Regions from separate parts of the Homo sapiens genome. Here region 1 is linked to region 2. Evidence: promoter capture Hi-C in 16 types of primary human blood cells and fetal thymus (Javierre and others, 2016). All regions are on one chromosome and are shown on one strand. The core of a region is centred on a gene start or on the middle of the fragment in contact, and the rest is flanking DNA. Distances in the headings are between cores, read along the strand shown.

Region 1 (6,720 bases), core at 2,631-5,130, 650 kb before region 2:
AGCAACCTGCACTGTGGGCTCTCCCTTCTTCCAGGCCGCCATCACTGTGCTAAAGGAGTTGACACCCAGAAAAGTTGAGACTTCTCTAGTGGATGCCATTTGGAAGATGAGTTTCTTGGTCTTGGGCAGCCCTTCTGGCAGCATCTCCTTGGCTGTGGCTGTCCTGTGAGCTGCATGCTCAACCTATACCCCAGGGCCCAACATGGGGCAGGCACGTGGGAGGTGCTTAATGCCTATGAGTGAAGTGGGTTGCAAAGGAATGAATGAATGGATGGATCCGTGAGAGAATACTTAGACTATTCATAAATTATTGAGCATTTACTATGTGCCAGGCACCTTACTGAGGGCTTAACCTGGTTGATTTCATTCTCATAATGATCTTGTGAGGAGGCTACTATTAGACTCTGTCCACTAGGGGAGATCTTGGGAATATGTTTTCTGGTTGGGGCAAGGGGGAGTCCTGGTTGTACTTCAGAGAACCTAATGATTGAGAAATGTGTTTAATATGTAGCCCCTAAGGGGGGCTTTTTGCTACAGGTTGGGATCCTGGAGGCAGGAATTGAGCCAGAAAGCAGACTATGCTGAAAGTAGTTTCTCTAAAGGTCTAGCTGCGTGTACTTTACAGCGATGATCTCATATTCCTTAGCAAGGCACCACGGTGACAGGAATTATTTTACTTGTTTGTGAAAAGGAAAAGTGGTGCATTCTAGGGAGACACAGTGGCCTCCCAGCATCCAGAGAGAGCTCAGAGCAGAAGCCAGGAGTCCTGAGTTGCTGGCACGTCTCTCCCACCCCCGCCTCTGAGAAGCAGAGAGCAGAGCTATTGGAAAGCCTGTTGCAAGCCGCCTTTATTCTTCTCCCTGCCCACTCAGGCTCAAACCAGAGTCCCACATGCACCTGGTGGCAGGACTGTTCCCCAAGGGAATGCAGGCGACAGTCCCCGGCTCCCCTTCCTCCCAGTGCACTGCTGGGGCAGGCCACCCCTTTCTGAGCCCCAAGCAGCTCCCCAGACCTCCTTCTCCAGATACGATTATTTTGGGAGAGTGCTGAGTGCAGCACAGCTGCAAGGTGCACCCAGACGCACCCTTCTGTCCTCAGCTGGCCCTTCGGAGCTGGCCCTTCGGAGCTGGCCTCGGTCTGGGGTGCACCTACCCCCACCCCCTGCAGCAGTCCCTCCTACACAAGGTCACTGTGTCCAACCACCTCCACCTTGGGGAAGCTCACAGGCTGTGGAGACAGGTGGTGGAAGAATGGGGGCCAGGAGAGTCAGAGCCGGTCTGAGGGGCACAGCCCAACTCCTAGCCCTGAGCCTGGGGTCACCAGCTTCCCAGGGCTTGCCTTACAGCCAAGGAGCAGGCTGGCCTTTGGCCAGCTGACCATCCCTGGGCCAACAGCAGGGACTGGACAAGGAGCTGCACCGAGGAGCTTATATAAGCACTTCTACTTTGCAGCCTGCTCTCTGCCCTGGCAGCCAGGACAAGAGTGACAACAAAGCTGTGTCCTGCCAGGGGAGGGGCCTCTGCCAGGAACGTACATTGAGTCCAACTTGGAAGAGGCCCAGTCCTCCCAAAGTACTTGTGTCCGGGTGGTGGACTGGATTAGCTGCGGAGCCCTGGAAGCTGCCTGTCCTTCTCCCTGTGCTTAACCAGAGGTCTCTATCCTGCCAAGTGGGCCCCTGGGGTCGGGGGCACAGGTAGTGGGCAGGAAGGCCCCTGCAGGGGATCCAGCCGCTCTAAAGTTCTTTCTGTTCCAGGTGCCCATGGGTTGGACAATGAGGCTGGTCACAGCAGCACTGTTACTGGGTCTCATGATGGTGGTCACTGGAGACGAGGATGAGAACAGCCCGTGTGCCCATGAGGCCCTCTTGGACGAGGACACCCTCTTTTGCCAGTAAGTCAGGGCAGGCTTGGAGGCGGGAGGCACAGAGGCTACCAGGCAGGTAGATGGCAGGGAGGGGTATATCCAGAACCAAGAAGCACCATCTCCTGAGCCTGATTTTATGGGAAGGCAGAACACGTGTCAGATCTGGAGACCACCTTGATGGAGGATGGCACTGAGAAAGGGATTTAGAAACAGACTCCTTCCTGCCTTCCAGAATGCACCTCTCCCAGGACCAGGAGGGCTGTGTATGTGGTCGGCTCTGCTTGGGCCCTCCAAACCTGGGGGGTCTTTGTGGGGGCAGGAGGCTGAGACCCTCAGAGAGAGACCCAGAGAGAGACCATCCCTCCCTGCAGCCTGAATGCCCCCTCTCCCCAGAACCCCAACAAAGAGGCATTTGAATGAAAGAAGGTGTATGATTAGACCCTTCCTGTGTGAGAGGTTTTTGTCAGTGATAGGACCCAGGAGCGTTTGTGCAGGGCCCTTTAGGGATCATGGCACTGGATGGAGTTGGGTGACGAGGCTGGCTTCTTCCCTTCCAAGGGCACAAGCTGCTTCTACTTTGGGTAAGCTGGAAAGCCTGGCGTTCGGCTCTCTCCTCACCAACTCTGCCGGTTAGAAAAGCAAGCCTTCATTTGTGTGGACTTGTGGGTCATCCTGAGGACTCCCCAGGCCAAACTGATGCCAAACCTCCCTGCCAGTTTGGTGGCTGAGGAGGGGGACACCCCACTGAGCCCACGTGTGAGAAATGAGAGAGGAGGAAAAAGAACTTTGACTACTTACTCTCTTCTGTACCTTTGAATTTTCACAAACATTACTGTTCATGAAAATGTTTGTTTTTCTTTTTAATTTTATTTAAAACATTTTTGACAAACATTACTTTTAGAACCATAAATACATGTCTTCTCTTAAAATTATGTAGTTGAATCCTTCTTAAAAAGTAACATTTTTGTTGGGTGAAGTGGCTCACATGTGTAATCCCAGCACTTTGGGAGGCCAAGGTGGAGGATCACTTGAGCCCAGGGGTTTGAGACCAGCCTGGGCAACATAGAGAGACTCTTTTCTCTACAAAACAGTTTAAAAACTAGCCAAGCATGCTGATGCACACCTGTCGTCCCAGCTACTCAAGAGGTTGAGGTGGGAGGATCGCTTAAACCCAGGAGGTCAAGGCTGGTCTGAGCCATGATTGCGCCACTGCATTCCAGCCTGGGCAACAGAGCCAGACCCTGCCTAAACAACAACAACAACAACAACAAAAAGTAACAAACTTTGTTCGTGTCAGTATATTTTGAAAAATCTTGTTAAATAGTTCTGGGTGTAGGCTGGGCACGGTGGCTCACACCTGTAATCCCAAGACTTTGGGAGACTGAGGCAGGCAGATAACAAGGTCAGGAGTTTGAGACCAGCCTGACCAACACGGTGAAACCCTGTCTCTACTAAAAATAAAAAAAAATTAGCCGGGCATGGTGGCGCACACCTGTAATCCCAGCTACTCAGGAGGCTGAGGCAGGAGAATCCCTTGAATCTGGGAGGTGGAGGTTGCAGTGAGCCGAGATTGCGCCACTGCACTCTAGCCTGGGCGACAGACCAAGACTCTGTCTCAAAAAACAAACAAAAAAACAAACAAGCAAGAAAACAGTTCTGGGTGAAGTTTTCACGTGGAAGGAGGAAGAGAAACGTGGTTGCCTCTCACAAGTGGGATCTAATTTTCTAGGTGCTCTGCTGAGTGAGCTGAGGGGCTGGCAGGCTTCTCGCTCTGAGCAGTGCAAGGTCAACACCCCCGTAACCAGGAGAGGTCAGCTGGGCCAGGGTACAGCAGGCCTGGGCCACAATAAGGGCCCCTTAAGGAGGACCTCAGCAGTTCCTGGTGTTTCCCACACTGTGGGAAATGAGGATGTCTGTAGGGTCATTGGGGGTGACCAGCCTGAGGCTCCAGATGCCCTAGGCTCTGCCCTGCCAAGATCACATGTTGGTGCCCTGGTGACCCATGCATGGGGACACACGTGGGAAGTCCCAGGGCACCTTCTGTGTGCCAGGTGCTCTGCCGGTGCCTGGACTCCTTGACTCCTTTCACTGTCAGTAACGAACCTACAAAGTCTGTGTTAGCACCCCCATTCTGCAGATGAAGAATCCCCAGAGATTAAGAAATCTGCCCACAGTGTTTACATAGCTTAAAAGTAGCAGAGCCAAGATCTAGCCCCCTTGTCTGACTCCACACTCACGCTCTTTCCCTATCTGCTTCTGACAACCTTCACCCCAGGTTCAGGGCTCCCAGACTCGAGTCAAGGGGGCCCATTCTCAGGACTCCCAGAATACACCAGCAGGCCCCCAGTCTGAGAAAGAGACTTATGACCTTAAGGTTGCATGCCAGGAAGATGTCTTTTGATTTCAAGCCATCATCGCAAAAGAGGAGCTTTGTCTTTATTGTCACTGAAGATTTTTGTTTGGAAGAGAGCATCATGAATGATGATGAAATGAAAAATGCATCAAGGACAGATCGGACCCCTGAGGAGACAGCAGGACCTCCTGCACTGACCCCTCCTCAAGATCCCCACTCGGCTCAGGCTCTGACCTTGGCAAGAGATCCCCCAGAGAAGGCACTCCTCTTGTGGGCATTTGGTCTACCAGGGAACTCTTAAAGATTGGACTCAATGCCTAAAGGTATTAATCTATAAGGGAGGAATTTTATGTACTGTGACAAGCTGTGAGACATTGTTAAGAGTAACGCTTCTCGGGAATCAGACCTTCCCTGCTTCTGAGATACCCCAGACAAGACCAGCAAAACCACCGACGGTCCCAACCCTGGGCTCAGTCGCAGAATGGAAAGAACCATGATTCTCCAAACCTGCAGCCAGGAGGTGAATCCACTCAAAAAACCCCACCTGCTGCTGCCATCCAGTCAGCCCTGCAAGCTCCCCTAGGGATGGGAGCTGCTGCTCAAAGCGTCCTGCTTTTTGGTGTTGAAAAGCTCCGTTCTTCAGAAAGTACATTCTTACCCCGAGGCCCTGCTGCTCTTCTTGAACACCAACCCTACCTGTTGTAGTGCGGATCCACGAGGTGCACAAACTAGTCTAGTTTCTCATCTTCTTTGTGGTCATTCATGTGTGTGGTGACAGGTGCCATGCCCTGCCCTGCCCCTTCATCCCCAGCTCCCCCCAACCTGGGCAGTCATCCCCAGTCCTTCAACCTCTCTCAGGGGCCTTGGTCTCTCCTGTTTAAATACATTTCTTTTAGAGACAGAGTCTTGTCTGTCACTTAGGCTGGAGTGCAGTGGCCTGATCATAGCTCACTGCAGCCTTGAACACCTGGGCTCAAGCAATCCTCCTGCCTCAACGTCCTGAGTAGCTGGGACTACAGGTGCACGCCACCACACCTGGCTAAGTTTCTTATTTTTTGTAGAGTTGGGAGTCTCGGTATGTAGTCCAGGCTGTTCTCAAACTCCTGGGCTCAAGCAATCCTGCTGCCTCAGCCTCCCAAAGTGCCGGTATTACAGGCATGCACTGCCATACCTGGCTTGCTGTTTTTCAAGTGGGGTGACCCACACTTTCACAGTGAGCCCCCTCTTCGAGGCAGCCTCATATCCCATGTGTCTTTTTGTCATCCTCACTGTCTTAGTCTGTTCAGCTACCATAACAAAATACCTTAGACTAGGTCATTTCTAAACAGCAGGAATGTATTACTCACAACTCTGGAGGCTGAGAAGCGCCAAAATCAAGGTGCTAGTGGATTCAGTGTGCGGTACAAGGTTGCTCTCTGCTTCAAAGATGGCACCTTCTTGCTGCGACTTCACATGGGGGAAGGGAAGGGCAGCTCCCTTCAGCCTCTCTTATGAGGGTGCCTTTTATAAGGGTGACTTAATCACCTCTTCCAAGTCCCGCTTGTTAATACCATCATATTGAGGATTAAATTCCAACATATAAATTTTGAGGAGACACAAACACTCAGACCATAGCACTCACTGAGGGGCAGCTGAAATTCTAAGCCCTTCATACAGGCACAGCTGAGAAGCCACGTTTCTAGAGACAGGGTCTCAGTGCATCACCCTCTGTCACCCAGGCTGGAATGTAGAAGCAGGATCATGGCTCACTGCAACCTTGACCTCCCAGACTCAAGCGATCCTCCCACCTCAGCCTCCCATATAGCTGGACTACAGATGCGTACCACCACACTTGGCTAATTTTTTCTATGTTTTATAGAGACAGGATCTCACTACGTTGCCCAGGCTGGCCTCTAACTCCTGGGCTCAAGTGATCATCTCACCTCAGCCTCCCAAAGTGCTGGGATTACAGGCTTGAGCCACCACGCCCAGCCCTTGTGATCTAATTCTTGCCATGACAGAGACCCACATGACCACCTAGCTCAAACTGAAGCCTGGAGGAATGAAACAGCTCACTAGGGAAAACGTGTGGTGCGGGGAAGAAAGTGCAGCCAAGCCCACAGTACTAGTTCTCTGTTGTACACAACAGATCACTCCAACACGTAGCAGCTGCAAATAGGTATTGTCCAACAGTTTCTCAGTTACTCATCTGGAGATAGGAATAGTGATAACAGCTGCCTCAAGGTATGGTTGCATGAAATGAAATCATACATATGTGATGTCCCCGATATATTGGGGTGGCCCAGTAAAAGTCATGCCCTTCATCCCCAGTCCCTTATGTAGCATTAGTTCATGGCAAAGCTGGGGCCAGGGCCCCTGATCTTTTCACTCCACTGTCTAGAGTGCCTTCAAGTCTTGTCAAGGAGATCAGGAGATCCCCAAACTCTCCACATGGAAATTAGAAGAATTCCATGTCAGGTAAACCACAAGCAGCAAGGGCACACAGGAAGGTGGCACCTTTGAGG
Region 2 (7,052 bases), core at 1,041-3,540:
GAGGCCAGGAGTTTGAGGCCAGTCTTAGGAACACAACGAGACCCTGTCTCTACAAATAATTAAAAAATAGAAAAAAAAATTTTAAAAACTCTCTTCTTTCAAACTCCATCAGAAGTCTCCAGAGTACACAGTCTTTCTGCTTTGAGCCTACAATACTTGCTCAGTCTCACAGGTTGCATTTAACACCCTTCTCTCTCCCAGGTTACCCGGGGTGAGGCTCTCCCTGGCTTCCCTACCAAATCTAAAGCCCATCAGGTCTCTTCAAAATCACTTCATAACCTGTAGGTCGGGCATGGTGGCCCATGCCTGTAATCACAGCACTTTGGGAGGCCGAGGCGGGTGGATCACTTGAGATCAGGAGCTCAAGAGCAGCGTGGCAAACATGATGAAACCCTGTCTTTACTAAAAATACAAAAATTAGCCAGGCATGGTGGTGCATGCCTGTAATCCCCCCTCCTCAGGAGTCTGAGGCACAAGAATTGCTTGAACCCAGGAGGCGGAGGTTGCAGTGAGTCAAGATCGTGGCACTCCAGCCTGGGTGACAGCACAAGATTCTGTCTCAAAAAAAAAAATATATATATATATATCACTTTATAACCTACAGATTTCAAGACTCCCTCTTTAAGGGGCTCCTCTCATTGTCCTGACTTGCCCCTGATTCCTGAAAAATATTTCTTAACGGAAAAGAATTTTTTTTTTTTAAGAGACAGGGTCTTGTTCTGTCATCCAGGCTACAGTGAAGTGGTGGCATCTTAGCTCACTGCAGTCTCAACCTCCTGTGCTCAAGCAGTCCTCTTGTCTCAGCCTCCCAAGTAGCTAGGACTTCAGGCACCTGCCACCATACCCAGCTAATTTTTAAAAAAAATTTGTAGAGACGGGATCTTGCCATGTTGCCCAGGCTGGTCTCAAACTGCTGACCTCAAGTGATCCTCTCACCTCAGACTCCCCAAATGCTGGGAGAAGCCTCTTCTTAACTTTCAAAAAGCTGTCTTGGCCGGGGGTGGTGGCTCGCGCCTGTAATCCCAGCACTCTGGAAGGCCAAGGTGGGCAGATCACAAGGTCAGGGGTTCGAGACCAGCCTGACCAAAATGGTGAACCCTCATCTCTACTAAAAATACAAAAATTAGCTGGGCATGGTGGCCTGCGCCTGTAATCCCAGCTACTCGGGAGGCAGAGGCAGGAGAATCGCTTGAACCTGGGAGGCGGAGGTTGCAGTGAGCAGAGATCACGCCACTGCACTCCAGCCTGCGCTACGGAGCGAGACTCCGTCTCAAAACAAACAAACAAACAAACAAAAAAGCTGTCTTAAGTATTAGCTACAGAGAAATCATACATTTAAAGAAAATATTAACACACAATTCATAAACCCACAGCGTAAGTGCAGACAGTTCAGGAACTTGCAAAATTTATTGAACTAAACTATCCTCTTTCACACTCTAAACGCAGGATATGACTCCCTTTCTTGAAGGCTATATTTAACTGCTAACACCCCTTTTCGGTGAGCCAGGACTCTGCTCACACCTCCCCAACACCACCCAAAGAATCCCAAGCAATCAGTATGCTAACAGCTACATACTCAGAAGCGCTGGACGGCCTCCCTTAAGGGACATCTGGAATCTTCCTCTTTGTCCACGCTTCCCTCAACCTCCAGCACCACTTCTATAGATTCAGGTAGCTCCCCCAGAGGGCCCTCTCCCAGTGTGGGTTTCCCCCTGGGATCAGGTAGCAGATACTTGGCTGTCCGAAAGGTTCAATGGGGAGCGAACCCAGGACGGGCTGGGCCTGCCTCCCTCGCATCCCTGGGTGCGTGCTCCGCGCTGAGGCCTCGCGACTCGGGCCTAACCAGAAGCAAGGCCCCCGAAGGCGAGTCCCATCCCCTTTCCACCCCGAGAAAAGCACCTTTCCCCAAAGCCACAGCCCTGCCAGGGGTTCTATCTCCTCTCTCAGGCCAAATAAGACGTCCACTTGGGCCTCCGGAGGGCCTCCCCTGCCGCCCCAACCTGGACACCTTCTTGGGGCCGCGGCGCCGGGCCTCGAATAACGACTTCCCGCCCCCGCCCGACCCGCAACCCTCAGCAGCTCCCCGAAGTGGGAGGGGAGAGGCCCGGGAGGGCGGCTCACCCCACGTGCTTGAGCAAAAACCCAACCTGCCCGCCCCCGAGCGACCCTGGCCTGCCTGGCATGCCGCAACCGGGGCCAGTACTCACCTGTGCGCGAGTCCTCGCCCCAGTCGCCCAGCTCCGCGCGGCCTCAGGGGAAGACCGAGCTCAACCCACGCCCCGGGGCCCACATGCTCCAGGGCCAATTTCCGCTCTTCGAGGCCTCCGGGGATGAGCCCATTGGCCACAAGACCTGTCGTTCACAAGAGCAAGCTATCTAATTGGCCCATCTGCAAGAGAGGCTCGTCCTTTCCAGCAGGTTCCCTGTGCAGGGGCGGTTCGTGCGGAAGGAGCGCTGGGAGTTATGTGAACCTCAGCGTTAAAATGTGTTAGGGTTTGGAGATCCTGACTCCCTTTCTGGGGGCAACTCCTATAAACAGATTTAGCCTAAGACTCGCGTGTTGAAATTGACTTGCCCCATTCCTGCCAGTTAAGAGGATTAGCGATACAGGTGGTGAAAAAGAAACGGTAAGCTCGAGTGCGCATTCAAACACCTAATTCATATGATTTCTGCACATCACTTTCGTTATACATAAAACAGAGATAAAAACTAAAAACATCCATTCATAGGGTTGAATGGAAATGTACACACATAATGACATAACGTATGTAAAATACTTAGCACAAGGAGAAGACGACCCTCGATAAATGTTGCCTATTTTTATTGATGCCTAAATCTGTGAGCCAAGAAGAGCTTTCTAGGAAGCAGATTAAATTATCAGTGGTTACTTCAGCAACTACAGAATGATTTTACCCAAAGAAAGATTTCTGACCCTCTCCCAACCATTTTGTCAAATAACTGCATCCCTCTCCCACACCCAGGTTTTACAGTGTGGTTGAGGTAAAGCTTCTGAAGGCTTTGGCGGATGCTATAGAGACATCCAAGGGCTCTGCATGGAATAGGACTAGAGAAGGGTTAACCTTATTTTTTCCAGGCCTCAGATATCCCATGACTTATTTTAATCCACACATACAAGGGCCCTCCCTATCCTTCCCGAATGAGGATAGTCTGAAAATTATTGGAGCAGGATGATTTTCAACTCAGGAATCCAGTTGGCACGATGCCCCTTCACTGTTCCTAGATAGTATTTGTTTACCATGATCTAACATTTTCACTTCCTTTACCACACAACCTTCTTAACTTGCAGCTGTTGCAATGTTATGTTGTAAGCAATTCTCCTGCCTGTGCAAATACTTAATGGTAGCAAGTGCAGTCAAAAACAGTTATACAAACTGTTTTGTAACTTTCGTGAAGATCCAACTCCTTGTTCTTTTAGGAACTCCGACCAAACTTTGCATGACACACTTATTCTATACACATGAAACAATATTTTGGGGGCAGGATTCAGCAAATCTTCTAGTTGAAGTAAGGGAATAATAATCCTCAGATAATTTCCTGAGTATGTCTTCTATTTGGGAACCTAAACCAAGAGCACCATTACAAAGGGTATGCACATTGGGTTTCCTAGATTTCTATATCCTGTCCATCCATGCAAGTGTAGGTGGCCTTCGTACAGTATTTCTAGCTAATCCAGACATCATTAACACTACTTATTTAACCAAAGGAAAATCCATATAGTCCTGCTGTTGATTGGACATAAAAATGGTTGAAGCTTTCTGAAACGTGGACATCTATTTAGGACCTTTCAAAAGCTAATCAACCTCTTTTGGAGATTATATTCCCTAACAGAGTACTTTAATTGTTAATTAGCCATCCCTAGGATATTGATTAAAAAGGACACACATAATCTCATCACAAAAAGATGAGTATGTGAGGTGATGGATATGTTAATTTGGTTTAATCATTCCACAATGTAAATAAATATCAGAATATCATACTGTACCACATAACCATATGTAATTGCTATTTGTTAATTAAAAATGAAAGGGGCAAAAAGAGCACGTATATCACACTAAGAGATAGTATTTTGAGATAAATCACAGATTTTTTTTTTAACTCAAAAAAGTCGTAACACCAAATTCTGTCCACCTGGCCCTGCCAGTCTCTAAAATTCAGAGTGAAAATGGCCCCATAACTATACATAACCTGAATTTTCCTAGGCAGTCATGACTCCAAATACCCTGGGCACTTGGTCACCATAAATATTTCTATTCCAACCATGTATTCTGGTTTGTTGTTGTTGTTGTTGCTGCTGTTCAGAAAATAAGATCCCCAGAGCCACAGCAAGATTAAGGGCAGAAAATTACATTACTGGTGGGGCCTAAAACCTATAGGAAGGATTTCATTTAAAGTAGACCTATGTAGTATGTCTGGGTTCCTGGCAGAGATAACTAGAAATCCTTTCAGGAGAAATACACCAGGCTCCCAAAACTCCCACGTAAAAGGTATGAATAAATATGAGCTCACGAAACACATCAGGCCGAATAACAGGAGGACACACAATCTAATAAAAAAATGGGCAAAAGGTATGGTGGCTCACATCTGTAATCCCAGCACTTTAGGAGGCCAATGTGGGCAGATGGCCTGAGGTCAGGAGTTCGAGACCAGCCTGGCCAACATGGTGAAATGCTGTCTCTACTAAAAACATAAAAATTAGCCAGGCATGTTGGTGTGGTGCCTGTAATCCCAGCTACTCGTGAGGCTGAGGCAGGAGAATCACTTGAACCCGGGAGGCGGAGGTTACAGTGAGCTGAGATCACGCCACTGCACTCCAGCCTGGGCAACAAGTGCAAAACTCTCTCTCAAAAAAAAAGGGGGGGGGGCCAAAAGATGTGAGTGGACCTGTGTCAGTCCATTAGTCCCTTTAGTGTTACTATAAAGGAATACCTGAGGCTGGGTAATTTATAAAGAAAAGAGGTTTATCGAGCTCATGGTTATGCTGGCTGGAAGGTTCAAGACTGGACACCTGGTGAGGACCTCAGGGTGCTTCCACTCATGGCAGAAGGCAAAGAGACCCGGCCTGTGCAGAGATTACATGGAGAGAGAGGAAGCAAGAGAGGGGAGGGAAGCGCTAGGTTCTTTTTAACAACCAGCTCTTGTTGGAACTAATAAGCCCTTTAGTAGAGACAGGGTTTCACCATATTGCCCAGGCTGGTCTTGAACTCAGTGGCTTATGGGTGTGAGCCACCACCCCTGACTGGAGCCGTAAAATTTAATGGAATTTGTCCTTCAGTATCTGCAGAGTATTGGTTTTTAGGACCTCCCTCCATGGATACCAAAATTCACAGATGCTCAAGTCTCTTATATAAAATGGTGTATTTTATATTTGCATATAACCTATGCACATTTCCCTGTATACTTTAAATTGTCTCTAGATGAATTATAATACCAAATACAGTGTAAATGCTACATAAATAGTTGTTACACTGTATTGTTTAGGGAATAATTACAAGAAAAAAGTCTGCACCTGTTCAGTACTGATGCAGCCATCCTTTTTGTTTTTTCCAAATATTTTTGATTTGTGGTTGGTTTAATCCATGGATGCAGAACCCGTGGATAGGGAGGGCCTATTGTATTTAGATGAGATCTTAGACTTGCAATTGATACTGAAACGGTGTAAGACTTTGGGGGCTGTTAGGATGGGGCGAATGTGTTGCATGTGAGAAGAACATGAATTTGCGGGGGACAGAGGGAGGAATGTTAGGGAGTGAATTGTGTCCTCCTTGCAAAACCTATGTTGAAGCCCTAATCCCCTGTATTTGGAGATAAAGTATGTAGGGAGATAATTAACATAAATGAGGTAAGGAGGAGCTCTAATCTGATAGGATTTGTGTCCTTATCAGAAGAGAAAGACATGAGATCTTTCTCTATCTCTATCCCTCTCTCTTCATGGAAGCACAGAGACAAGGCCATGTGAGGACACAGCAAGATGGCGGCCATCTATAAACTAGGGAGATGGTACTCACCAGAAATCAAATTTGCCAGCACCTTGATCATAGAATCATAGTCTCCAGAGCTGTGAGAAAACAAATGTGTGTTGCTGAGGCCACCCAGTCTGTGGCAATTTGTTATGGCAGGCCTGTCTGACTAATAGAATAACAGAAGTCAGCAAGGATGTGGTGGAACAGGAACCCTCAGACATTGCCAGTGGGAATGTAAAATGATGCAGCCTCTTTGGGAAACATTTGGCAGTTTCTCAAAAAGTTAAGAAAAAAATTACTGTAGGAACCAAAATTTCACTTCTTGGTAGCTACCTAAGAAAAATGAAAACATGTCCACACAAAACTTGCATGCAAATGTTCATAGCAGCATTATTGATAATTGCCAAAAACTTCACCTAAATGTCCATCAACTGGTAAATGAATAAACAGAAATTTGTATGCTTAACAATGGGGATGCGTTAAAAAAAAAAAGGAGGCCGGGCACGGTGGCTCATGCCTGTAATCCCGGCCGGGTGCGGTGGCTCATGCCTGTAATCCCTGCACTTTGGGAGGCCAAGGCGGGTGGATCGCCTGAGGTCAGGAGTTCGAAAGCAGCCTGGCCAACATGATGAAAACCCATCTCTACTAAAAATACAAAAAATTAGCTGGGTGTGGTGGCAGGCGCCTGTAATCCCAGCTACTCAGGAGGCTGAGCTAGGAGAATCGCTTGAACCCAGGGGGCAGAGGTTGCAGTGAGCCAAGATCGCGCCACTGCACTCCAGCCTGGGCAACAAGAGCAAAACTCTGTCTCAAAAAAAAAAAAAAAAAAAAAAGGAATAAAGATGTGGTATATATTCACACAATGGATGGATTCATCAATAAGAAGGAACAAACTGCTATGGCATGGATGAACCCCAAAAAATATGTTAAATGAAAGAAACCAGACATAAGAGACCACATATTGTATGATTCCATTTATGTGAAATGTCTAGAAAACATAAATCTATAGAGACAGAATGTAAACTAATGGTTGCCTGGGGCTGGGGTGGGAATTAGGATGAACTGTAAATG

The links. Contacts are between HindIII fragments. The CHiCAGO score rates a contact against its expected background, and 5 or more counts as called.
Region 1: a contact is called between a fragment that was not itself captured here and the fragment with the promoter of PIWIL2 in region 2, in 1 of 17 cell types (naive CD4 T cells). The highest score is 5.6, in naive CD4 T cells.

What each region holds. Positions count from the first base shown.
Region 1 is chr8:22,922,754-22,929,473 of GRCh38, reverse strand. PEBP4 (phosphatidylethanolamine binding protein 4) reads left to right here and starts at 1,560. Exons shown (of 7, transcript NM_144962.3): 1 at 1,560-1,651; 2 at 1,754-1,890. The coding sequence starts at 1,760. The HindIII fragment of the contact is 9,707 bases long and covers 1-6,720 here.
Region 2 is chr8:22,270,554-22,277,605 of GRCh38, reverse strand. It overlaps PIWIL2 (piwi like RNA-mediated gene silencing 2), which reads right to left and starts at 2,290. Exons shown (of 23, transcript NM_018068.5): 1 at 2,208-2,290. PIWIL2-DT (PIWIL2 divergent transcript) reads left to right here and starts at 2,444. Exons shown (of 2, transcript NR_134293.1): 1 at 2,444-2,627. RefSeq lists enhancers at 1,365-2,010, 6,977-7,052. The HindIII fragment of the contact is 4,124 bases long and covers 1-3,008 here.